Linked DNA regions of Homo sapiens: regions 2 and 3 are each linked to region 1. Evidence: promoter capture Hi-C in 16 types of primary human blood cells and fetal thymus (Javierre and others, 2016). All regions are on one chromosome and are shown on one strand. Each heading gives the region's core, a stretch centred on a gene start or on the middle of the fragment in contact. The rest is flanking DNA. Distances are from core to core; before and after follow the strand shown.

Evidence for each region. The method cuts DNA at HindIII sites, captures the fragments that hold promoters and counts their contacts. A CHiCAGO score of 5 or more calls a contact.
Region 2: a fragment that was not itself captured here is called in contact with the fragment with the promoter of TRIM55 in region 1 in 4 of 17 cell types (endothelial precursors, naive B cells, total B cells and 1 more); the score reaches 8.5 in endothelial precursors.
Region 3: a fragment that was not itself captured here is called in contact with the fragment with the promoter of TRIM55 in region 1 in 1 of 17 cell types (endothelial precursors); the score reaches 5.6 in endothelial precursors.

Annotation. Positions count from the first base shown.
Region 1 is chr8:66,125,070-66,130,170 of GRCh38, forward strand. TRIM55 (tripartite motif containing 55) reads left to right here and starts at 2,060. Exons shown (of 10, transcript NM_184085.2): 1 at 2,060-2,367; 2 at 3,235-3,407. The coding sequence starts at 2,200. RefSeq lists a silencer at 1,606-1,878. The HindIII fragment of the contact is 5,122 bases long and covers 1-3,124 here.
Region 2 is chr8:66,416,176-66,421,276 of GRCh38, forward strand. It overlaps RRS1-DT (RRS1 divergent transcript), which reads right to left. Exons shown (of 3, transcript NR_040434.1): 3 at 3,412-5,101. All of the region lies in intron 1 of LOC102724687 (a long non-coding RNA gene), which reads right to left. Among named protein-coding and RNA genes, the nearest start is that of RRS1-DT, 10 kb to the right of the region's middle. The HindIII fragment of the contact is 3,100 bases long and covers 674-3,773 here.
Region 3 is chr8:66,392,444-66,397,544 of GRCh38, forward strand. The region is part of intron 1 of LOC102724687 (a long non-coding RNA gene); the gene reads right to left. Among named protein-coding and RNA genes, the nearest start is that of RRS1-DT, 34 kb to the right of the region's middle. The HindIII fragment of the contact is 1,383 bases long and covers 2,305-3,687 here.

The sequences.
Region 1 (5,101 bases), core at 810-3,309:
GTTTGCCTCTTATCTACCCACAACTGAAATTTTTTTTCTCTTTCCCCAATATCCATTCTTTTCCCTTTAAATATTAAAGCCTTCGAAATCTTCTTTGGAGAAAGATGCAGGCCTGCCTCCTGGCACGCGCCCTTAACCTTGACAAAACAAACTTTCTCGATTGAGACCTGTCTCAGGTACTTTTTGGCTTGTACTCTTTATCACATTTTATTTTGTACTATGTTCTGTGTGTGCATGTCTCATCTCCACTCTTATACTGAGCTCCTTGAGGCCAATGACCTATGTCTTGTTCATCTTTCAATACCCAGAGCCTCACACAATGGAGACACACTACACATATCCAATGAATGTATTTTGAAGGAATGAATTCCTTCTAAAAGAAAAGACTCTGCTGCAATGTGCATGATTAGTCTAAGTGCTTTTACTTAGATAGCAAGGTCTTTTGCAGTAGAAACTTAATCTTTCCTAGAAAATATCCCACATATTGTACTCAGACCTCCCCTCCATAGCCCATGAATTGATAAACACAATTAACTGCCTAGGCTGGGTGAACCAAAGTAACTCAGTAAAAAAACTTTACCAGTTCCCGTCCTCCCTGTAGTTGCTAAATAAATATTGAAAGGACTAAGATAATTCTCTAAAGATCCCTGATATGCTTATGAATATATATAACTTATTATTAGTTAATAGAGCTTACTAGATTCTCAATAAGCTCTCCGTGCACACAGCACTAAGACCACACATAACTGACCTACACTTCACTGGTAATTTAATTCACACCAGGGATATGTTAACAAAATGTGTTTATTGCCCAAGGTTTTTAAAATGAAGGAGAAAGAAAGCCGAAATTTATCACATATAAACAGACTTGGATTTCTTTTTTATTTTTGATCTGATTTAAACATTTTTAAATACAATATGTATTGGTTAAACTGTTGCTTCACAAAATCCTGATGAATGTCAGAATCGATGTTTATGACTCAAGAGCAGACCAAGAATATCAGAAATGACCAGAGAAACTATGGTTTAACAAGTCACCTTGGAGGAAGGGGAAATGCAAGGGAGAATAGGTATTTTGGAGGCAGATGAAATGCAGATATGGAAGTAGGACTCCATTTATACTTCAGTTGTCAATGGCACTGGTAACTGTCCCCCAAGGGATGACAAAATAAAATAATAGATCTGCCACCTCCAGGTGCCTGCCAGTTACTACCTCATTACAGATTATTGTTGCAAACTATTATATAATTTAAGAATTTAAATAATCAGTAAAAGACTATCAAATTTTCTTTGTGTTTTTGGGTGTATGTAGGAGGTGGGGCAGTATAGGATGAAAGAGGGCCAAGGAAGAGGAAAGCAATGTGGAAGAGCAAACAGCATACTAGAGTTGTTTTATAATGTAACTTTTTTCTCAAATAATTAGATCATCCACTGGTTTTGAATTTTTATTTATGCATGTATTTATTTATTTATTAGGTGGATACCTTTATGGTGAAGGGATTTGAATTTAGCTTTTAAATTGGAATTTTTCAAAGACCACAACCCCAGCTGACAAAGATGAAATACTTAACATTAAGAAAGTCTTTTTGATGATTGCCTTTGTGAAGCCAGGATAACAATTTTCGAGACATGTTTTGTTCATTTTCACCTAAGAAGGTGCTATTAGGCTACTTTCCGTGACTCAATTCCTACACTCTCAAGACAGGGCTGGCATTAGTTACACAGACTCTGTGCTGCGTTCTGCCCCTTCCTGGAGAAGCCATCGCCAAGTTCTCAGTGAGTGCTCACAGAGGGCATGGTTCAGTGGCTAGGCATGCACATTTGCATTTGTTGTTGACAACTGTCAGCTTCGACCTCCTTCTCCTCACAACCCCGTCTAAATGGGGTTTGTAATCCTCCTTCCCACCCACTCTCTTCACTCCCTGGGGCAAGAATGTTGACTCCTGCTCTCCGTCACCTGTCAGGATCCATCCTCCTGTCACTGGCTTATATGGACACGTCAGCCCACCGTCACGTGACCGCAGGCTGCTAAAAACAGCTCCAGCACCCACTCCAAACCAGGGCCTGAAACAATGTCCTCCACCGAGAGAAACGTAAAGGACACTTGATCACACAATCCCTGGAATAATATCCAGGAAACACTTGCTGGAGCCACTCGCAGCACCCTTCCCTGGCAGCACACTTGGGGACAGCGAGGAGATGAGCGCATCTCTGAATTACAAATCTTTTTCCAAAGAGCAGCAGACCATGGATAACTTAGAGAAGCAACTCATCTGTCCCATCTGCTTAGAGATGTTCACGAAACCTGTGGTGATTCTCCCTTGTCAGCACAACCTGTGTAGGAAATGTGCCAGTGATATTTTCCAGGTAGGTTTGTTTGGAATTTGGTTGAGGGGAGGGGGTGGAAAAGATTCCCTCCTCTTGGAATCAAGTGCTTAACATTGAGGTGAAATCCTTTAAAAAACTTTATAAGGTTGCCGGGCGCTTTGGCTCACGCCTGTAGTCCCAGCACTTTGGGAGGCTGAGGCCAGTGGATCACCTGAGGTCAGGCCTTCGAGACCAGGCTGGCCAACATGGCAAAACCCCATCTCCACTAAAAATACAAAAAAAAAAAAATTAGCTGGGCATGGTGGCGGGCACCTATAATCTCAGGTACTTGGGAGGCTGAGGCAGGAGAATTGCTTGAACCCAGGAGGCGGACATTGCAGCGAGCGGAGATCGTGCCATTGCCCTCCGGCCTGGGCAACAGAGCAAGACTCTGTCTCAAAAAAAGAAAAACAAACAAACAAAAAAACTTTATAAAGTTGCATTTACTTTCAAGAAAAACACGTTTCTTTTAATGATTTGGTTTGTGTCCTCTTTACTCCCAAATCTAGTTTTATTTTAATACTAAGAATCATATTTTTTTTTAAGTCAAACCATTTAATGTGTTTCAAAACTATAAATGAGTAACTGCTGAAGACATGAGTGTGGAGTTTCTGGCTGGAACTTTTGGTTCTGAAAGTGGTGGACGGAAAAGCACCTTACGTGGACAATGGTATATTCGCAGATGACTGTGGATAAGGTCTGACCCTGTGTTTCAGGACCACTTGCTGAGAAAGCCCTGAGGGATGATCTTATGGCAAGCTTAAAGTAGAAGTTCATGTTGTTTGTAGTAGCAGAGAGTGAAAATAAGTCTCAGAGAAGCTGCTTGTGGCATTACCCAATTCCTTTTTTCTTACTTGGCAAGAACAGGCCTCTAACCCGTATTTGCCCACAAGAGGAGGTACCACCATGGCATCAGGGGGCCGATTCCGCTGCCCATCCTGTAGACATGAAGTGGTTTTGGATAGACATGGGGTATATGGACTTCAGAGGAACCTGCTGGTGGAAAATATCATTGACATCTACAAGCAGGAGTCCACCAGGTAACACTCTTCCACTCTTCCATGTGTCAAGCCCATCTGAAACTTGTTTTTGTTTGTTTGTTTTAATGGGTTGCTACGCTGAATGCTTGTTTATCAATCACAGACTGTTTTATGGAAAAATGGTTTTCCAAGTCAGTCCTTCCCAGTGAGACTGAGAGTTGCTCACAGCAGGAGAGAGGGGAGTTGGTGCCCATGCTTTTGTATCAATTTAAGAATGAAGTGACTCATTAACACCAATCCATTCCAGATGGTGATGCTGAAAGAGACATACTGCTGTCCCCCTCCACCTTAAAGCCTGGTATTACATCCATTTTACACATTTTGCACTTCACAGGCACTTTGTAGCTCCAGATCCCTACAAAGCAAAGAAAAAAAAATCTAGTAAATACTTAATAGAAAATTAATAGAAATGGCATCTTCCGAAGTAGCCCAGTTCCTAGTTCAGACAGTCTTGCCTTAAAATTGTTTGGATGATAATAAAAACAAAATCCTCTAACATAGGTTGTCACTGTATTTACTCTAAGGGAAGTCACAAAGCAAGGCAAAACCCTGGCCTTTAGGGACTTAAACTTCAGAGCCATGAGGAAAAAAAAGGGTGAAATTCAGGTTATGTTTCCCTATTCCTTATACTGTATTTACTGCATAGTCAGCATTCACTTGTTGATTGTGAATAACATCGTGATAGCATTATATATCTATCCATTCATTTTTAAAAAATAACAAAAAAGGCTTCTTATTCACCAAACCACATTGGCTATAGAATTCCTTTCCTAGACACAATGCTGCGGGAAGCTTATTCCTAGAAGGCACGGTGTGAAGAGCCCCTTTTCAATTGTGTGCAGGTCAGTCCAGTCCACAAAGCTTGATAGCAATATTGAGACCATCTAGAAATGGCCTCATTGTGATTCCATTAGGGGACACGTATTTATGGAACATCTGCAGAGCTCTAAGAGGCTTGTGCTCTTGGAAGGAAAGCTGTTCTATAAATCTAACATAATTATTATAATTATTATAGCTATTAATTTCCGCTAAAGATCCAAAACTAAATTAGACAGTACCAGGATCTAGATGGGTTTGGGGAAGAATTGCTGATGACATATTGCAGAGATTGCAGCTGGCTGTTTCCCTTGCTTCCAAAGTCTCTTGACAAGAACAAAAGTACTATTGCTGTTGCTGTTACTTTACAGATTTGATCTCATTGTATTTCACTACTTTAAAATACAAATACACACTTGTCTCTTAAAAACTTAACCAGCCAATTAAAAACCAATTAATTATGAGATTGATGCAAAAGTAATTGCGATTTTTGCAATTACTTTTCATGGCCAAAACAGCAATTACTTTGCCACCAACCTAATATTAAGAGAGTTTATATAACAAGAGTTTCAGTGCTAGTCCAGTGTCTTGCACAGAATAGTTGCTCCATAAATCCCAGCTGATTAAGCAATACCACAAATATTCTTACGTAACAAGTTTCAGAGCTAGTACAGTGCTTTGCACAGAATAGTTGCCCCATAAATCCCAGCTGATTAAGCAACACCACAAATATTCTTTCATGTTCTATTTATTGCAATAAATTTATGTTTTGTTACTTGTCACAGTGGGAACTTGAGACATGAAAAAATAGCAATACTTGTTATGAAATCCAGAGAAGAGATGTTAAAACTTGCAGTATTGGTAAAACTACAAAACAC
Region 2 (5,101 bases), core at 974-3,473, 290 kb after region 1:
GAAGGAAGGAAGGAAGGAAGGAAGGAAGGAAGGAAGGAAGGAAGGAAAGGAACTTTCTCATATTCTAGAGTCTAGAAGTCCAAAATCAAACTGTCAGCAGGGTTTGTTCCTTATAAGGACCATGAAGGAAGGATTTGCTCCAGGCCTCATTCCTTGACTTATAGATGGTTGTTTGTCTTCTCTATGTCTTCACATCATCTTCCTTCTTAAGTGTCCACGTTCAAAGTTCCTCTTCTTTTTTTTTTTATTTTGTTTGGGTTTTAAAAATTATTATTATTATTATTATTATTATTATTATTATTTTAGAGATGGGGTCTTGCTCTGTTGCCCAGGCTGGAGTGCAATGGCAAATGTCAAAAATGTTGCAAGAAATAGGACAAACATAATTTTGAATTCATAGTTGAGCTTTCATGAAAGGAAAAGATAGTTTCAGAGACCAAAAGCAAAGAAAGAACTAGAAACTAGAGAGAATGTTACAGCAGCCCTGGGAGGGTGGAAAGGATGGGTGCTGATCTCCAACACCTAGCGATTTGGATTTAACTGCTCATGGGAAAAGACCTCGGGCCACATGAGGTGGGAAATTAGAAACAACATCCCCAAATAGGCCTAGATGAAAGGGTAAACTAAAAAAAGTAAAAATCCAACCAGTAATGGAAGTAAATTATAATAAAGAAGCTTGAATGGCATAACCTGGATCGGGTGTGAAAAAAATATTTTACCTGCGCTTGAAATGATGGATACCCCATTTACCCTGATGTGATTACTACGCATTGCATGCCTGTATCAAAATATCTCACATAACCCATAAAAACTAATTTTGAAAATATTTTAACTCAATTTTGCTATGGGCTCCTTCTTATGTGGGTTTGGGGTTTAGATTTACATAACCCAAATGATCTAGGAGCCCCTAAACCAAGTTATTAATTTTTAAAAAAGGTTTCCAGCTAACAATGAAGCAAATTCAAAACTTCTCTGAGAGGACATGCCCTTAATCCAGATTACACAGGATTCCCACAGATAAAGCCTTGCCAAAAACAAGTGCATAACTCAAAATTACCAAACACATGGAAAATCAATCAACATACACAACAAAAGCAGTATTAGGCCTTCGGAGTGTTTAGATAATAGAGCTAACAGATGGAGACCATAATACATGTTCTAAGTAAAGACCTAAAAGACAAACTTTAAATATGAAAAAAGCCCAAGATACTATGTGAAAAGAACAGACTTGAAAACAAAACAATTAGAATTTTTACAAATCAAAAGTCTAGCGTGCTCATTAAAAGTTCAATTGATTATTTATTTATGTATTTATTTATTTTAGAGGCAGGGTCAAACTCTGTTGCCCAACTTAGAGAATCACAGCTCACTGCAGACTTGAACTCCTGGGCTCAAGCAATCCTCTTGCCTCAGCCTCCTGAGTAGCTAGGACTACAGGCACATGCCACCACACCTGGCTAATTTTTATAAATTAAATTAAAACCGCAATTACTTTTGCACCGACCTAATTTTTTTTTTTTTAAGAAATGATGTCTCACTATGCTGCCTAGGCTGGTCTCAAACTCCTGGCCTCAAGCTATCCTCCCATCTCAGTCTCCCAAAGCACTGGGATTACAGGTGTGAGCCACTGCACCTGGCTCTCAATAGATAGTTTACAAAGCAGTTAATATAAATATGAAGGGAAAATTAGTGAACTGGGAAACCAACCTGAGGGAGTACCCTGAAGACAGCACACAGAAACAAAGCAAAACAAAGGCCTAATGTATTTATTCATATTCCTGAAAAAGAAAAAAGAAATGGCAGGGCAAATACTCAAAATGAGAAAGACTAATAATGTTAATGAAAGACATAAACCCTCTGGTTCAGGAAAGAGAAATCCTGAGTATGGTAAATACAAAGAAATCCACAGTTAGAACTATTTTGGTGAAACCACAGAACCCGAAGACACTGCGAAGACCTTGGATGAAGCCACAGAGAAAACAGAAGTAAGTAGACAATGAGATAGAGTTTTGGGTGCAAAATGTTTATTAGGGATCAACTCCCAGGAGAGGAAAAGGGTGGAAGGAGAACTGAGCAGAGGGAGAAATCACACTGTGATGTGGCCTGACAAGGCCTCAGCCAACCCAGCAGGGAGCTCAGAGGAAAGAGTAACCTTTCAGAGTGTCCTGCACTGGGCTGAAACGGGTGGCCAGGTCTGTCTATCCCTGCCACGCTCAGTTGCAGAAGGCAGGTATTCCATAGAACATGAGTTCAGGGGAAGCAGTTCTCTGCAGCTGAGACAGATCTGAAAAGAGCTGACAGGTAGAGGCTGTGTGATGGTCACAGTCCTCCCCATCTGGACAGGAAGTGCCTCCTGGAAGAGGGATCTGGGAGGCACATCTCTGCATCTAACATAGGAGTAATCTACATGGAATGACAATTCAACTGACAGATTTTTTAGCAGCAGCAAGAAAACAAAACAAAATAAAACAAAAGATAATGGGATAATATCCTCAAAGAACTGAAAAAAAACAAAAAACAAAAAAGAAAAACTGGCAGCCTGGATTTCAAATCCAGCCAACTTACCATTCAACAGTGAGGGTGAAATAAAGCCACAGGAACAAAGACTACAAGTGTTTACTACTAATTGACCCTCACCAACAAAACTACTAAAAGATGTGTTTCAGGAAGAAGGAAAATGAACCAAAAAGGAAGGGCCGAAATGTAAGGAGTGATGAGCAAAGAAATATATAACCATATGTCCAAATTTCACTATATAAAATAGTGTTTTGAAGATGATTAATCTGTAGTGCCTAAAAACAAGATGGAACTAAAACTCAGGAAAATAGTAGTGTTTATGAAAAAGAGTGTCGTCAGAGTTAAACCATTCAAAAATTCATATATTTGATAGGAGAAGGGTAAAGTTGTTTAACTTTAGATTTAAGTCAATTATGCTGTCAACACTTAAAGGATCACCCCAGAAGGATAGAAATTTCCAAACCATAGGAAGTTAAGGTTAAAATGTAAAAGAAAACTCAAGCGAGCTATTAAAATGTAGGAGCAGAGGAAAAAATAGAAATAGAAAAGTCCAGGTAGACAGATAGCACAAAATAAGATAGAAATAAATTCAATACATCAGTAATTACAATAAATATAATCTAACTGTATTAATTAAAAGTCAGATATTGGCAGTTTTCATATAAAAAACAAATCAACAACAAAATTCAGATATATATTGCTTAAAGAGACATATAGCTAAAGCAAAAGGATGCAAAGAGGTTGGAAACAAAAAAATGAAAAAAGATGTACCAGGTACACACTAACCAAGAACAATATAGCTATAGTGTCATTGAAAGCATTTTCAGGAATAAAGATGTTCGCTATGTTATAATAAAAAGATAAAAGGAAAACACCACCAGGAAGATTCAGCAATTCAAAATGTTATGCTTTTAATATTAGAGCATCAAATACAGAATGGGAATTTATAATCAAAGTAGAAAGTTTCAACACATCTTTCAGTAACTGATAGATCAAGAAAACACAAAATTAGTAAGAACATGGAAGATTTAAATAATAAAGTTAAGAAAATACCATTGTGGTTATGTCTTCACTGGTCTAAAACCTTCCATGACTCCCTATTGCCTATAGCATCAAATTGAAATTCTTCTTCTTGATCCTAAAGTTGCACCACAGTTGGCACCATCCTGACCATTTGCCAAGCCTATTTCTTACCTGTCCCCAATACAAATCATCTATTCTAGGCAAATCAAATTGCTAGTGAACCAGAAAGAAGAAGCTTTATGATGTAGTGTTTATGTGCATGGACTCTGAGATCGGACTGCAAAGGTTCAAATCCTGATTCTACAAACTATTAACTGCATAGTAACTTAATAACTTAATCTTTATGACCCTCAGTCTTCTCATCTATAAGATGAGGATATTGATAACATCTACCTCTTAGGCCTGTTGTGGGATTTATAAAGACAATCAGTGACTGACATATTATACTTGCCATAAGAATTAGCTACATCCCTTTATTCATATTGTTACCATCTACTGGAATGCTCCTTTCCTTCTCCTATCTATTAAAACTCAGGCTCCAAAGCCAACTCAGGAACTTCCTCTTTCATAAAGCCTTCACCAGTTACTCCCTCCAGCCTTCATTTATCTCCCTCTCCTACAATACAGTAGTTCTTAACCTTGTGAAAGAGGGATAGGGAGTCACAGATGCCACTGAGAATCTGATGGGAAAAAATCTTCTATTCATAAAAATGCACATGCATACACACATTTGCATAAAACTTCAAGGGATTCATGTCCCTCTGAAGCTCACCCATGGAACCCCAATTACAAACATCTGACTTCAAGTCTATGCTTCACCATCACCTACCCTGTTCTCCTGAGGCCATCTTAACAAAAGTACGGACAGCTAACAAGGAGCTGGAAGAGGCACAGAGAGAAGCTGGTGAAGCTCACTTCATACATAAGGAAATTCACAGAGAGATAAAGTGACTGGCCAAAGCCATATACAACTATGGAGTGACAGAGATGGAGCTGGAGGCTGTCTCCTGACTACCCCTATAGAGTTCTTTGCAAGTGTGCTTGATGAACTAATCTCCAACTCACAGAACTCTAAAACTAAGAAATCATGTTAGCCCATTTTTCAGGTGGGGTGATGATCCCTTAGGGAATTTGTCTCCAGGTAATCAGGCCAAAAGTCCCAAGACTCATACTCAGAATAATAATTACTAAACATACTAGTAGTGTTTGGTTTTTGTTTTCTTTTACTTTACTTCCTTGTATTAACATTTCCTCACTAACTTTCTCTGAAGCAATATCAAACTAGGAAGCACAAACCTGTCCCAATGTTATTATTTGGGGAAGGTAATTTTGAAGCTGTCTTTAAAACTTGTCTGTAACTGTAACAATCAAAGGACATCATCAGTTCTAGATCTTGAGCTAGAAAAGAGATAGTCAATCCACAATCTTTCCATTCTCAGATTCAACTTTATAAACATAAATATTTTATAAATATCTCCTCTATCTTCTTCTCTATGACATTTTTCCAGAACAAGTAACAAACAATAAAATGGACTATACGCTGCCCATTCTCTCTTTAAGG
Region 3 (5,101 bases), core at 1,746-4,245, 270 kb after region 1:
GAAGGTGCCATTACTGGAAAAGAGGAGTATTTAAGATGGGTATTACTAATAGGAGTTAGGCCAAGGGGAGCCCTCAGGCAGGGCATCATCTGATGTGATGGCTGGCTTCATGTATTTGAAAAAGGGAGCGATTTATTTAGTGCTGCTCCTGAGGGCAGTATGGAGCCTGCTGAACCAGGGCCCATCACAGTGGACCAGCCTGGAGTGTTCAGGGCCTGCAGCCTGGGTTTCTCCCCTTTCTTGCTCCATATTCTTAGAAAAGTTACTTACTCTTTGTTGATCTTGGTTTTCTTTTTTTAAAAAATATTTTTACTTTCTTTTTCTGTGAATTTGAGACAGCATAGATCTTGGTTTTCTTATCTGTAACATGGAGATAAAGAATAATGCCTACTTCATGGGGTATTGTAAGAATTTTTTTAAATTTTTTTTTTGTTTGGGGGGCTACAGGATCTTACTCTGCCACCCAGGCTGGAGTGCAGCCTCAACCTCCTGGGCTCAAGTGATCCTCCCACCTCAGCCTCCCAAGTAGCTGGGACTACAGGCAGGCAACACCACGCCAGGCTAATTTTGGATTTTTTGTAGAATCAAGGTCTCGCCATGTTGACCAAGCTGGTCTTGAACTCCTGAGCTCAAGCGATCCGCCTGCCTCAGCCTCCTAAAATGCTGGGATTACAGGCGTGAGCCACCACGCCCGGCCATATTGTAAGAATTTAATGAGGTGCTACTTATAAAGCATTTGGCATAGTACCTTGGCAAATAAGTTGTTTATATTATTAGAGGCCAGAACTACCAAAGGTGTCTGCTTTTTGTTCACTGTCTTAGATGCGGGAGAGAATATTTGACCTTAGATTTGTCCGCCTGCATCTTTCTCCTGACGCCAACCTCAGTTCCTCCTCTGACTGCCTCTCTCCATCTGTATTGCAAAACACCAAACTCTCTGCCAAAGAACACATGTAAGTGACCAAAACAGCAAGAATTGCTGATCTTTACTCTCACAGGCACTGACAGTTGCCTGGCAGGATCAAGGGAGAGCTTATTAAGAGGGAGGGTTTTTTGTCATTACATATGGTTGGATAGGGAGAAAGTATGGCCCACTGGAGGGAGAGCTCCAGTCATTCTCCAGAACACAGAGTGGGAGTCAACACATTCTGAGTCAGTCACCAATACAACTTTTGGCCAAAACCCATTTTCCTGTCTTTGATTTCACCATATGACCCCTGCTGATTGCTCTGACCCTTCCCACCACAATGCGCACTTACACCTATTTCACCCAAATCACATAAGGCTGGTAACAAAGAAGTAACACCATGGGCCACCACTTGGCCAGGTTACCTTCCTCCTCCTGACTCTAAAAAAAGGTACAATGGAGAATGCACAAATTTGACAACAACAAAATCAATGGAATAGCTACATTCTTATGACAAATTATGCCAAGTCTGAAGGCTTCTGAGCATTTCCTGTTGTCATAAAGGCAAAAACACATTTCATTATTTAGAAAATCTGAGCATCAACAAGATAACAAGTCTGACCTTTGTATCCAAGCCCTTTATAACTTTGGGGCCAGAACCGGTAGAATGGGGAAGAGTCCACTCTGTTCTCTTTAAGTTCTTCTGGAGAATTTCTGCTCAATTCACTCTTCTTAAAATGTCAAACTCCTTATATCTATATATACAATCCTTTGCCTTATGAATTAAGGTCCTCTGACTCCTGTACCTTCAGTGGACCAATGACAGTTTCAGGATTTGAGCAGCTAAGCTTGAGTGTGAATTCAGTCTATGCTCTCCTGGGGTTTCCAATCTGTGCTGTACTTAGGTTTTGTTTTTTCTTTTTTCTTTTTTTCCCCACTGTCTCACTTTCCCAATGTACTTAGGTTTATTAAATGAGTTTACGTATCTCAAATACAGGATAGTTTTTGAAACTGAAATATCTTAAATTTATAAGAAAAACTTGGCCTTCAGATTCACAAATAATCCAAAAACTTATAAATAATTAAAACCTCAACCTTCTCCTTCATGAAAAATTTAGTCAGAATTCTTAATAAAATAAAGTGATTTAAACTCTAGCTCATATAACATAGGATTAAATATTTCTAAATCAGATTGCTCAAAAGATACAAAAAGCCTCAATAATTCATGGACAGTCAGGAATGAGGTTGAGCTGAATGAGCAGAAAAATGATGTATAAGATTAGACACAGCTTGGTCTTCCCAAGCAGGTGGCACAGCAACACTTCACCTCTCACAGCAGCAAAAGCAATTCACCATCATATGCTACTATCTTTTTTATTTAAGAATAGCATTTAACAAGCTTATTTTAGAATCTGATTCATTTTCATTTTTAGGAAATTTAAAGGCCTTAAACCTTCTCCATACTGTGTGTGATTACACCTAATTAAAGTTCACATCTTTCGCAGAAAGGTGGGATATCAGTTCTAATTTTACGCACTGGTGTGATGGAGGGCAGAAGGCATTAGGCTGCAGGCCAATAAACCCAGGTTTATTCCTGACTTGGTCACTACTTTTCTGGATTTTCTTAAATGCCTCAGTTTTTCCATTCATAATATATGAGCATTAATGTCTGGCCCTTATCAGAATTCTCTATGGCAAATTATGTAATCACCTTTCATTTTAAAACTATTTAAACTATTGAGCCCGTACTGTATGATAGACACCATCCTATCTGCTATAAATAAAGTAAGGAACAAGAAAGTCATACTCTAACATTTGTTACATTTGTTCAAAAAATTTGTACTGCTATCCAATAATTGATATGACACTTTCAGGAACCTCTGAAGATACATGAAGTCAATAAGTCAACCAACAAGTCAACAAACATTTGTTGAATATTTACAATGTGCAAGACATTGTATCAGATACAATTATAAATAAAAATGTACCTCACTAGACGTATGCTGCTAGAGGATACAGCTCACGTTCATCATTACACCCTGTATCCCCGAAGTCTAGCATAGTGCCTCGTACTCAGCAATGCTCAATAAAGAATTGTTGAATGGACAAATGTATGACTGTGGGAGTGAAAAAAACAATCAAGGGCCCTGCACTCAAGGGGTTAGAATTTAATAGGGAATTTAAAGCATGTGTGCATCCACTCATCAACTACAATAAATAATAGTATGCCATAAAAAGACGCAAAGGAAACAAAAGAATTTAAAGCGGAAACTCTAACAGATACTTGTACACCAGTGTTCATAGCAGCTTTATTCACAATAGCCAAAAGTTGGAAACAATTCAAATATCCATTGATAGATGAATGGATCAACAAAATGTGGTGTATACATAACAATAAATTTAATTCAGCCAGAAGGAAATTCTGACACGTTACAACATAGATGAACCTTGTGGACATTATGCCAAGTTAATTAAGCTAGGCCCAAAAGGACAAATATTGTATTATTCCACTTACATGAGATCCCTAGAATAGTCACATTTATAGAGACATAAAGTAGAAGAATCATTACCAGGGGCTATGAGGGAGGGGGAATATGGAGTTATTGTTTCATGAGTAAAGGATTTCTGTTTCAGATGATGAAAACGTTCTGGAAATGGATGGTGGTGGTGGCTATGCAATGAGAACATACGTAATGCCACTAAACTGTACATTTTAAAAACAATTAAAATAGTAAATTTTATGTTATGGATTTCAGTACAATTTTTTTAAGCCATGAAGAAGCTTGGGAGGCACTGAGAACATCTGCCTGGGATAATCAAGGAGGGGTTTTCTAGAGATGGTCCTATTTGTGCTTGCTCTTCCTGTTAATCCCTGCAAATCAAAGTTCATACTGTGGATAATAAGAAGCAAGCATTCATTTTCATGTGGTTCACCAGCTTTATATGATTCCTTATACAAGAAACTAGTAAGACAGGTTGCTCTGGGAAGAGGCACTAGAAGCCTAGAGGTTTAGGGATTTGATGGCCTGGGGTAGAAAAAGACTTACTTTTCACTGTGCATTTATTCCTTTTTGTTTAAAATACAAATATTTGCATTTCCCTGATCATTAGTGATGTTGAGCATTTTTTCATATGTTTGTTGGCCATTTGTATGCCCTCCTTTGAGAATTGTCTATTCATGTCCTTAAGCCCACTTTTTGATGGGATTGTTTGTTTTTTCTTGCTAATTTGTTTGAGTTTGTTGTAGATTCTGGATATTAGTCCTTTGTCAGATATACAGATTGTGAAGACTTTCTCCCACTCTGTGGGTTGTCTGTCTACTCTGCAGACTGTTCCTTTTGCAGTGCAAAAGCTCTTTAGTTTAATTAAGTCCCAGCTATTTGTTTTTGTTTTTATTAAATTTGCTTTTGGGTTCTTGATCATGAAATCCTTGCCTAAGCCGATGTCTAGAAGGGCTTTTCCAATGTTGTCTTCTAGAATTTTTATAGTTTCAGGTCTTAGATTTAAGTCATCGATCCATCTTGAGTTGATTTTTATATAAGGTGAGAGATAAGGATCCAGTTTCATTCTCCTACATGTGGCTTGTCAATTATCCCAGCACCATTTGTTGAATAGGGTGTCGTTTCCCCACTTTATGTTTTTGTTTGCTTTGTTGAAGATCAGCTGGCTGTAAGAATGGCCAAAATAAAAAAAAAATCGATGTTGGCATGGATGTGGTGAACAGGGAACACTTTTACACTGCTGCTGGAATGTAAACTAGTACAACCATTATGGAAAACAGTGTGGAGATTCCTTAAAGAACTAAAAGTAAAACTACCATTTGATCCAGCAGTCCCACTACTGGGTATCTACCCAGAGGAAATGAAGTCATTATATGAAAAAGATATTTGCACACACATGTTTGTAGCAGCACAATTTGCAATTGCAAAAACGTGGAACTAACCCAAATACCCATCAATCAATGAGTGGCTAAAGAAACTGTGGAATACTACTCAGTAGTAACTGTGGAATACTACTCAAATGGAATACTACTCAGCCATAAAAAAGAATGAATTAATGGCATTCACAGCAACCTGGATGAGATTAGAGACTATTATTTTAAGTGAAGTAACTTAAGAATGGAAAACCAAACAGCATATGTTCTCACTCACATGTGGGAGCTAAGCTATGAAGATGCAAAGGCATAAGAAAAAC